Linked DNA regions of Homo sapiens: region 1 is linked to region 2. The links are contacts of gene promoters, found by promoter capture Hi-C in human tissues and cell types (Jung and others, 2019). All regions are on one chromosome and are shown on one strand. The core of a region is centred on a gene start or on the middle of the fragment in contact, and the rest is flanking DNA. Distances in the headings are between cores, read along the strand shown. Region 1 overlaps COLEC12 (collectin subfamily member 12). Region 2 holds the start of TYMS (thymidylate synthetase).

Region 1 (4,515 bases), core at 822-3,321, 190 kb before region 2:
AAGATGAGGGAGTCACAGCTCCCAATGGGCCATCTTCTTAAGAAGGGGCACAGCTAAAGTGATTTTCCTCTGTTGGTAACTGGTGGGTTTATGTTTTTTGTCCAATATGTTTTTCATTAGCATGAGAAATACCAAGAAAAATTTCATATGATAAATGTAAACAGATTAATGAATTGAGAGAAACTGCCAACTGTCTTCAGATTGTTAATGGAAACATTATGCTTTCTATTAAATTTACAGACACCTGCATTTGAATAATTAGCTGCTTTTATGAAGCTTGGAAGGAAAAGAATCTTCCATGTTTGAGTCTAGAGATCTGGAACAGAGTTCGTTCAAAACATGCCTAGAAAATGCTTCAATACTCATAGAGTTATACGAAAACAACTTACAGCCAAATGGAAAACCAACAGTCTTGAGATTACTAAGATTTGTGAACAAAATTAATACAAGTTTTCCATCTGACAATTTTTGCCAACTAAATTTTACATCAGATACCTGGGAAGATAGATCCATAATAAAGATACAAAATATTTATTTTGAATTGTTGGAATAAGGAAGAGTAAAAAATAATATATTTTAAAAATCAGGCCGGGCGCAGTGCCTCACACCTGTAATTCCAGCAATTTGGGAGGCCGAGACAGGTGGATCACGAGGTCAGGAGTTCGAGACCAGCCTGGCCAATATGGTGAAACCCCATCTCCACTAAAAATACAAAAATTATCTGGTTGTGGTGTCATGTGCCTGTAGTCCCAGCTGCTCGGGAGGCTGAGGCAGGAGAATCGCTTAAACCCGGTAGGCGGAGGTTGCAGTGAGCCGAGATCGCACCATTGCACTCCAGCCTGGGCGACAGAGTGAGACTCCGTCTCAAAAAAAAAAAAAAAAATCAAATGCAGTAGCAGAATAGATTCTTGAACCTTGAATCACATTACATAGATGCAAACCCATAACACTGTATAGCCTAAAGAAACCTTTGAAATCATCTACCCTAACCCTTTTATTTTGCAGAAGGGCTTATTTGAGACCCAGAGAGTTTATATCATTTTGCAAAATTCACATAGCTAGTTAATGCATAGCAAAAGAAAGGCTATAATTCTGATCTCCATGCTTCCAATTCAGAAGTCTTTAAATAGCCAAACACACACACACACACAGAGTGTATATTCACATATACATATGAGAGACACAAATGAAATGCTGAACTCATTTTTTTTGGTAAACTTTAATTCCCCATCTTTGTCTTTCTCTCTTAGTAAATAATGAGCATTTATGGAGTACCTTTTAAGTGCCAGGCATTGTGCTAAGCACTCCACTTGCATTAGTTCATCCTCACAATGTCCCTGAAACATAGGTAGTCTTGTTATCCCTCGTTCCATAACAAGAAAATTTAAAGACTGGCGGTGCAAATTTACTTAAGGTTATTTGGGCCCTCTGAGATCTTATTCACGGACTTCACTGTTTATCGGAGGTACATTTTAATCTATCAAGAGTGGAAAAAATAGCAAAGGTTTCTGAACCACATTATTACACTCTTTATGAATTGTGCTTTAAGTGAACATAGCTGCTATTAATCAGCAGAGTGGCTTCACATGGCAGCAGTTTAGTAACAGCTGTGGCCGATGGCGTGCGCAGCACATGGAAGGATGCTGCCTTCCAAACTTCTTTTACGAGTTTATATCAAAACAGATTCTCATACCTCATCCCCAACCTTTTCTGCAGGACAAAGGAAAGGGACTTCATACAAGTTCTCTTCACTTGCACAGACGGAAAGAGGTGGGGGCAGAGGGGCGTTCCCGACCTTATTTGGAAACCATTGAAGCTTTGCCAGTACTGAACCTAGAACACCACCAGACAGAAGGAAGAGAGGGCTCACAGTACATCTGGCACGTAGTGCCCTCTATTGTGCCTGTGGAAATTCTGCGGGTGAGAGAGGAGGCAGTTTGTAGGTTGGCTGATATTTTTCTTTTATGCAAATACACCGCTGTTTGAAAAATCTATTTTTTATTACATGTGAAATTCCCAGAGGCAAAAGGCCACGTCTCTCCTCTTTATTGTCCATGGTGTCCAACACATTATGGATAGGTAGTAAACGTCACATCACTTTGATATGCAGGACTAAGAATGACCCTTTCCCAAGAGTCCTGCTTGCTTCTATTTCTCAACAAGCCTCATGAGGTGCATACATCTCCCAAGAAAAGGGAACTGCTGAAGGCCTGCATCTCTTCCCCAAATTTCCATGAATGTTGCACTCACTTCTTCCCTGGGCTAATGGACTCCCCCGCCCCCAACTGTTTTACTGGTTTTTTACTCACACCTGCAGAATTTATATGTGGATCCCTGACACCCTACTTCCTATCATTTTCAGCACAAAGTGGGAGCTTCTGATTCTACATATACTCTATGACTCTGTTTGGGAAGCCTTTGATGAGGCCTCACTGCCAGCATGGACATCTTTAGGAGAAAATTTTTACTTCCATAAAGATTTTTTTTTTATAACTTTTGTTTTCCAAGAAATTGAAACAAGATGAATTAATAAGTATTGATGTTGGCAAATAAAATGATCAAGTGGGAATTTTGTTTTATCCATCTTTGTACCACAGTTCATGGCATATGGAAGGCATTTGGTGAATGTGTATCAGAATTATAAGTATTCATATTTCCCCTCAATTATTTCCAAAAGCAATTCAATCATAAGACTTCTATGTAAACCATGAGGTGGGACAATCATTATATCTTAATATTTTTTATCAGGCAGGGTGCAATGGCTTATACCAGTAATCCCAACACTTTGGAAGGCCAAGGTAGGTGGATCACTTGAGGCCAGGAAATTTTTTTTTTTTTTTTTTTTTTTTTTTTTGAGACGGAGTCTCGCTCGGTCTCCCAGGCTGGAGTGCAGTGGTGCAATCTTGGTTCACTGCAACCTCCGTCTCCCAGGTTCAAGCAATTCTCCTGCCTCAGCCTCCCAAGCAGCTGGGATGACAGGGGCCCACCACCATGCCCGGCTAATTTTTTTTTTGTTTTTAATAGAGATGGGGTTTCACCATGTTGGCCAGGGTGGTCTCAAACTCCTGACCTCAAGTGATGCACTCCCTTTGGCCTCCCAAAGTGCTGGCATTACAGGTGTGAGCCACCACCCCAGAGGCCAGGAATTTAAGACCAGCCTGGGCAATGTAGCAAGACCCTGTCTCTAAAAAAAAAAAAATTTTTTTTTAATTAACCAGGCATGGTGATATACGCCTGTATTCCTAGCTACTCAGGAGGCTGAGGTGGGAGAATCACCTGAGTCCAGGAGTTCAAGGCTGCAGTGAGCTATGATCATGCCACTGAACTCTAGCTTGAGTGACAGAGTAAGACCTTGTCTCTAAAACAACGAACTAAACATCCAGATGCTTTTAACAAGGGGAACAATATAGTTATTTCTTACATATTTAAACTGCTGTGGAAATACTGATCTTAGGTTGAAGGTTTGAGATCTTACATGTCAGCAATAATTTTACTTTTATATTTTCCCGTTTCACAGAATGAGAACGACATGTTAGAAAGGTTATTTCAAATATTAGAGATTACAGGGCATCTTCAGGCCTTGGGAATAAGAATGCAGTCTGGATTTCTGCCAGAACCTTTGCAGACTTCTGAGTTTGATTCTCTTGTTTTCCTGACAAGTCTAAATTCCTGCACCTTCTGCAACATGTGAAAGAAATTGATCTGTGCATGGAAATATTCACACTTATAAAAAAATACAACTACCAGAGTGTATAAAAAGAGGAGCATGTGTCAATCACGGCCAAATGTCAGTATTCAAAAACCTATAAAAGAATAAAAATAAAATATCAGAAGAAGCAGAAAGCGTTTATAGTGATGACTCAGACCAGGAGACCAATTTCACAATGTTTCATTGTGGCAAGAGCTGTATTCACTAAGATTTGGAACTTTCTCATTTTTTTTCTTTTTTTTTTTAGTTCCTCTTCCAAATTTTTTTTCTTCAAAATCTGCTTAAGACTATAGAGAATACTGAGCCAGAAAACAAAATGACTTTTGTTCATTCATTCACTTCTCTATTATGCTGATGTCTTGTTTTTGATGTCTTCTCTTTTTATAAACTGTCAAAAACTAGAACAGCACCTTGTAGCTTCATTTATAGCAAAGTTACAATTAGGAAGTAAACTTGTAATTATTTTATGAATAAATCGAATTTTTAAAGTTTATATAAAATAATTTTAAAAGTGAAACAAATTATAAATAATAGTATATCAGATTATATAAATAATAATATAAATTGTTGCTTTTTAATAATTTTGTATAACTTAGTATTACATTTGAAATATAATGATATTACATTATATATTATAGATATTATTGTTACAAGTAATAATAGTGGCTAAAGTGCTTAATTCCTCACCAACCATTCCTCCCCAAGTAATTAGTCCAAGCCAACCAGAGACAGCCCATTCCCTTTGTACATAACTAATTTCGAAAAGGACTTGTGACTCAACGTTGGTCAATGAGATGACAGGGAAA
Region 2 (5,058 bases), core at 2,559-5,058:
ATGTCTTGTTTGGTTACTTTTGTAGTGTTTGTCACTGCCAGAATATCAGTTCTATGAAGAAAAGGGCCTTGTCTGTCTTGCTGTTTGTAGACATGAGGAAGGCACCATGATATAAATGTGTGTTAATGAATGAATGAATGAAATTTGTCTGAGAGAACCATTCATTCTAACCAACATTTATGGAGTAACTACTTTGAAAAGAACCATTCTGTCTTTACTATCAAGCCAAGATACTCAAGGAAGGCAGCAGAAGTGGAAGCTCCATGTGGGCAGAGGAGCCTAGTCTTGAGATGTGATTTAGCTGGTATTTGGGTGAAACAAATAAACCAGCCTCAAAATAACACAAGGGGCCGGGTGCAGTGGCTCACGCCTGTATCCCAGCACTTTGGGAGGCTCGAGGCAGGCAGATTACTTCAGGTGAGGAGTTCGAGACCAGCCTGGCTAACATGGTGAACCTCCATCTCTACTAAAAATACAAAAACTAGCTGGGCATGGTGATGGGTGCCTGTAATCCCAGTTACTCGGGAGGCTGAGGCAGGAGAATTGCTTGAGCCTGGGAGGCAGAGGTTGCAGTGAGCTGAGATTCTGCCACTGCACTCCAGCCTGGGTGACAGAGCGAGACTCCGTCGAAAAGAAAAAAAGAAAGAAAGAAAAAAAACACACAAGGATGTGCAACTGATGCAGGGCAGGTGAGCCCAGAATTGGGCTTAGCTCAGGAGGGTTCTTGGTTTTGCTCAGGAAAGAATTTAAGAGCTACCTGGTAGAAGAAAAGCTCTACTGATATGGCAACAGCTCCCTGAGTGCCCCTGTAGAGCAGAGCTACCCTATAGGCAGTGTGCTGACAGCAGTAGCTTAAAGGCAGGTCTGCAGTGATATTTATAACCTACTTTCAATTACATGCAAATTAAGGGGCAGATTATGCAGAAATGTCTAGAAAAAGGGTGGTAACTTCCGGTTGTCGGCTCACTGCCATGGAAAGGGGCAGTAAGCTCTGGATGTTGCCATGACAATCGTAAACTGACATGGCACACTGGTGGGCACGTCTTATGGAAAACTACTTCTGCCCCATCCTTGTTTTGACTACTCCTCAATTTGGTCCCATGTCAGAGCCCTGCCTCCAGAGTCAAGCCCTGTCTACCTCACAATTATTATGTATCAGGTTTTTAAAAAATAACACAAGTAAGGCTGGGCATGGTGGCTCACGCCTTTAATCCCAGCACTTTGGGAGGCCGAGGTGGGCAGATCACTTCAGATCAGAAGTCTGAGACAAGCCTGACCAACATGGTGAAACCCTGTCTCTCCTAAAAATGCAAAAAAAAAAAAAAAGAAAAAAAAATTAGCTGGGCATGGTGGCAGGCGCCTATAGTTCCAGCTACTTGGGAGGCTGAGGCAGAATTGCTTGAACCCATGCAGCGGAGTTTGCAGTGAGCTGAGCACCACTGCACTGCAGCCTGAGGGACAGAGCAAGATTCCACCTCAAAAAAAAAAAAAAAAAAAAAAAAGGAAAAAGAATAACACAAGGAAATTAAACACAGATAACGTGCATCTGGATAATCTGGAATATTTTCAGCCTGGGATCTTCCTCGTGCTCGGAAACGTGTAGGGAAACGTGTAGGGACAGTTTTCAGCTGGTGTGGGGTGGGGGAATGCCAACATATGGTTGGCTTTCCACAGTCCTGCTAAAGCCCTGCAATGTGCAGAACAAACCGGTCCAGCTAAGAAAAGTCCCACCCAAAATGCTGAGAGCACCTCTGTACTCAATCAACCGTTGAGGTAAAAGGATGCTTGCAAGTACAACACATGTATCAGTGCATTTTAAACTCATTATAAAATCGTTCTGTAAACCAAAAATAAAATTCTACGCCCAGAACCATCTGAAAAGACCACTCCTCTGGGTCAAAGGCATTCCAAATTTAACCACAAAAACTAGTTCAGGCCATGATGGGAAGGGGAGCCAGACATGCCTCATTATTCCCTCCTCCGTTTGGAATTTAGGCACAGCTGACCAGCATTGACATCAACACAGGCCTCAAGACAGGTAGAACACACTCTTTAAGTCTGACAAGAAACATTTACAATCTATCTCTCTAAAGCCTGCTACCTGGAGGTTTAATCTGCATGATGAATCCATGGTCTCCACAACCCCTTATCTTAACCCAGATATTCCTTTCTATTCATTCAAATCTTTTTTTTTTTTTTCCCCATACGGCTCTGTCACCCAGACTGGAGTGCAGTGGCGCTTTCTCAGCTACTGCAAGCAACCTCCGCCTCCTGGGTTCAAGCGATTCTCCTACCTCAGCCTCCTGAGTACCTGGGGTTACAGGCGTGTGCCACCTCGCCCCACTAATTTTTGTATTTTCAGTAGAGAGGGTTTCACTATGTTGGCCAGGATGGTCTCAATCTCCTGACCTCGTGATCTGCCCGCCTCGACCTCCCAAGTGCTGGGATTACAGGCGTGAGCCACCGCGCCCAGCCCTCTATTGATTCCAGATCTTTAGATAACAATTCTTTCAACCAAATGTATAAAAAATCAAGTTGTAGCCCAACCACCTTGGGGACATGTTCTCAGGATCTGCTGAGGGCTCTATCACCGGCCATTGGTCACTCATATTTGGCTCAGAATAAATTTCTTCAGATATTTTACAGAGTTTAACTCTTTTCATCAACAGTTCCCACTCCCCAGTGTTAATGTTATAAACAATTCAGTAAAACTGGGAAATGTGGTCTATTAAAAACTTGGGGCCGAGTGCGGTGGCTCACGCCTGTAATCCCAGCACTTTGGGAGGCCAATGTGGGTGGATCACCTGAGGTCAGGAGTTTGAGACCAGCCTGGCTAACATGGCGAAACCCCGTCTCTACTAAACATGAAAAAAAAAAATTAGCCGGGCGTGGTGGCGGCGCCTGTAGTCCCAGCTACGCGAGAGGCTGAGGCAGCAGAATTGCTTGAACCCAGGAGGCGGAGGTTGCAGTGAGCCGAGATCGCACCATTGCACTCCAGCCTGGGTGAGAGAGCGAGACTCTGTCTCAAAAAAAAAAAAAAAAGACCGCCAGGGCTCAAACAAAAAACCTCGGAAAAGCCCTGGCGGTCTTTTTTTTTTTTTTTTTTTTTTTTTTGGGACAGTCTTGCTCTGTCGCCCAGGCTGGAGTACAATGGTCGGATCTTGGCTCACTGCAACCTCTGCCTCCCAGGTTCAAGCAATTCTTCTGCCTCAGCCTCCCAAGTAGCCACCACGCCCAGCTAATTTTTGTACTTTTAGTAGAGACGGGGGTTTCACCATGTTGTCCAGGCTGGTCTTGAACTCCTGACCTCAGGTGATCCACCCGCCTCGGCCCCCCAAAGTACTAGGATTACAGGCGTGAGCCACCGCGTCCAGCGCCCTGGCGGTTTTTAATCAAGTAGAAAAGCTGCATTATACCACTTGCTTCGGTTGCTTCAGTGAGAACGAAGAAATGGAAATGCAAATCCCTTATTAGTTGTAGGAAACAGATCTCAAACAGCAGTTTTGTTGACAAGACCGCAGGAAAACGTGGGAACTGTGCTGCTGGCTTAGAGAAGGCGCGGTCGACCAGACGGTTCCCAAAGGGCGCAGTCCTTCCCAGCCACCGCACCTGCATCCAGGTTCCCGGGTTTCCTAAGACTCTCAGCTGTGGCCCTGGGCTCCGTTCTGTGCCACACCCGTGGCTCCTGCGTTTCCCCCTGGCGCACGCTCTCTAGAGCGGGGGCCGCCGCGACCCCGCCGAGCAGGAAGAGGCGGAGCGCGGGACGGCCGCGGGAAAAGGCGCGCGGAAGGGGTCCTGCCACCGCGCCACTTGGCCTGCCTCCGTCCCGCCGCGCCACTTGGCCTGCCTCCGTCCCGCCGCGCCACTTCGCCTGCCTCCGTCCCCCGCCCGCCGCGCCATGCCTGTGGCCGGCTCGGAGCTGCCGCGCCGGCCCTTGCCCCCCGCCGCACAGGAGCGGGACGCCGAGCCGCGTCCGCCGCACGGGGAGCTGCAGTACCTGGGGCAGATCCAACACATCCTCCGCTGCGGCGTCAGGAAGGACGACCGCACGGGCACCGGCACCCTGTCGGTATTCGGCATGCAGGCGCGCTACAGCCTGAGAGGTGACGCCGCGGGCCCCTGCGGGACGGGTGGCGGGAAGGAGGGAGGCGCGGCTGGGGAGAGCGCTCGGGAGCTGCCGGGCGCTGCGGACCCCGTTTAGTCCTAACCTCAATCCTGCGAGGGAGGGGACGCATCGTCCTCCTCGCCTTACAGACGCCGAAACGGAGGGTCCCATTAGGGACGTGACTGGCGCGGGCAACACACACAGCAGCGACAGCCGGGAGGTAAGCCGCGTCCCAGCGGCTCCGCGGCCGGGCTCGCAGTCGCCCCAGTGATGCCGTGGCCCCCGAGGCGGGCGTCATCGGGCAGCGTTTGCCCAGTGCTGGAGGGTTAGGGAGAGCTGCCTGGGCTTGACCGCGCGCCGGTCTCAAAGTCCTGGCTTTGGCCCCTCCTCCGTTTTCCCCTGTGGACCATTCCGCTTCGCAGCGTTTTCAAAAACTGGAGCGAAAGTGATGTGGGCGGGGCAAAGGCGGCGGGAAGAGGAGAGCACTGAAGCTGGCGCGGGAACTTGGTTTCCTGGTGGCCTCCCATCCAATCCCCACGAACCAGCTTTCCTCTTAAACCTTGAAAAGAGAAATTCGGGAGTTCGAGTATAAGTTCTTAGTCGTCCTTTCCTCTTTCCTTTCCGACAGGAGCACCCCAGGCAAAAAATGTCTCGCGGGTCATTGGCGCCAGGCTTTCAGGGGACAGTGGGGCGGGGCGGGGTGGGCACAGGACGTTAGGCAGCCGTTGGCCCTCCCTAAGGCCACACCGTCCTGCCGTCCTGGATCCTGCGCCAGCTGCGCGGGGGAGGGGACTCGAAGGTGTGTGAGCCAGGGGCTGACCTTGACCGCTCAGATAAATGGAGCGCAGCCTTGACACAGGGGTGGAGGTGGTTTTGAATGGGGAAACCCATTCGTGGTGAAGCAGATTCACTGTAGCTAGCGGAAAAGCCCTCCGGCCCACGGACCCATCTAG

The links. Contacts are between HindIII fragments. The study calls those that stand out against the background at their distance.
Region 1: a contact is called between a fragment that was not itself captured here and the fragment with the promoter of TYMS in region 2, in 2 of the 25 tissues and cell types used here (mesendoderm cells and spleen).

What each region holds. Positions count from the first base shown.
Region 1 is chr18:467,396-471,910 of GRCh38, forward strand. The region is part of intron 2 of COLEC12 (collectin subfamily member 12); the gene reads right to left. Among named protein-coding and RNA genes, the nearest start is that of COLEC12, 31 kb to the right of the region's middle. The HindIII fragment of the contact is 6,644 bases long and covers 1-4,515 here.
Region 2 is chr18:653,845-658,902 of GRCh38, forward strand. TYMS (thymidylate synthetase) reads left to right here and starts at 3,809. Exons shown (of 7, transcript NM_001071.4): 1 at 3,809-4,103. The coding sequence starts at 3,899. It overlaps TYMSOS (TYMS opposite strand RNA), which reads right to left and starts at 4,447. Exons shown (of 2, transcript NR_171001.1): 1 at 3,998-4,447. RefSeq lists enhancers at 3,533-4,034, 4,035-4,534, 4,402-4,521 and silencers at 3,772-3,951, 4,122-4,171. The HindIII fragment of the contact is 10,369 bases long and covers 1-5,058 here.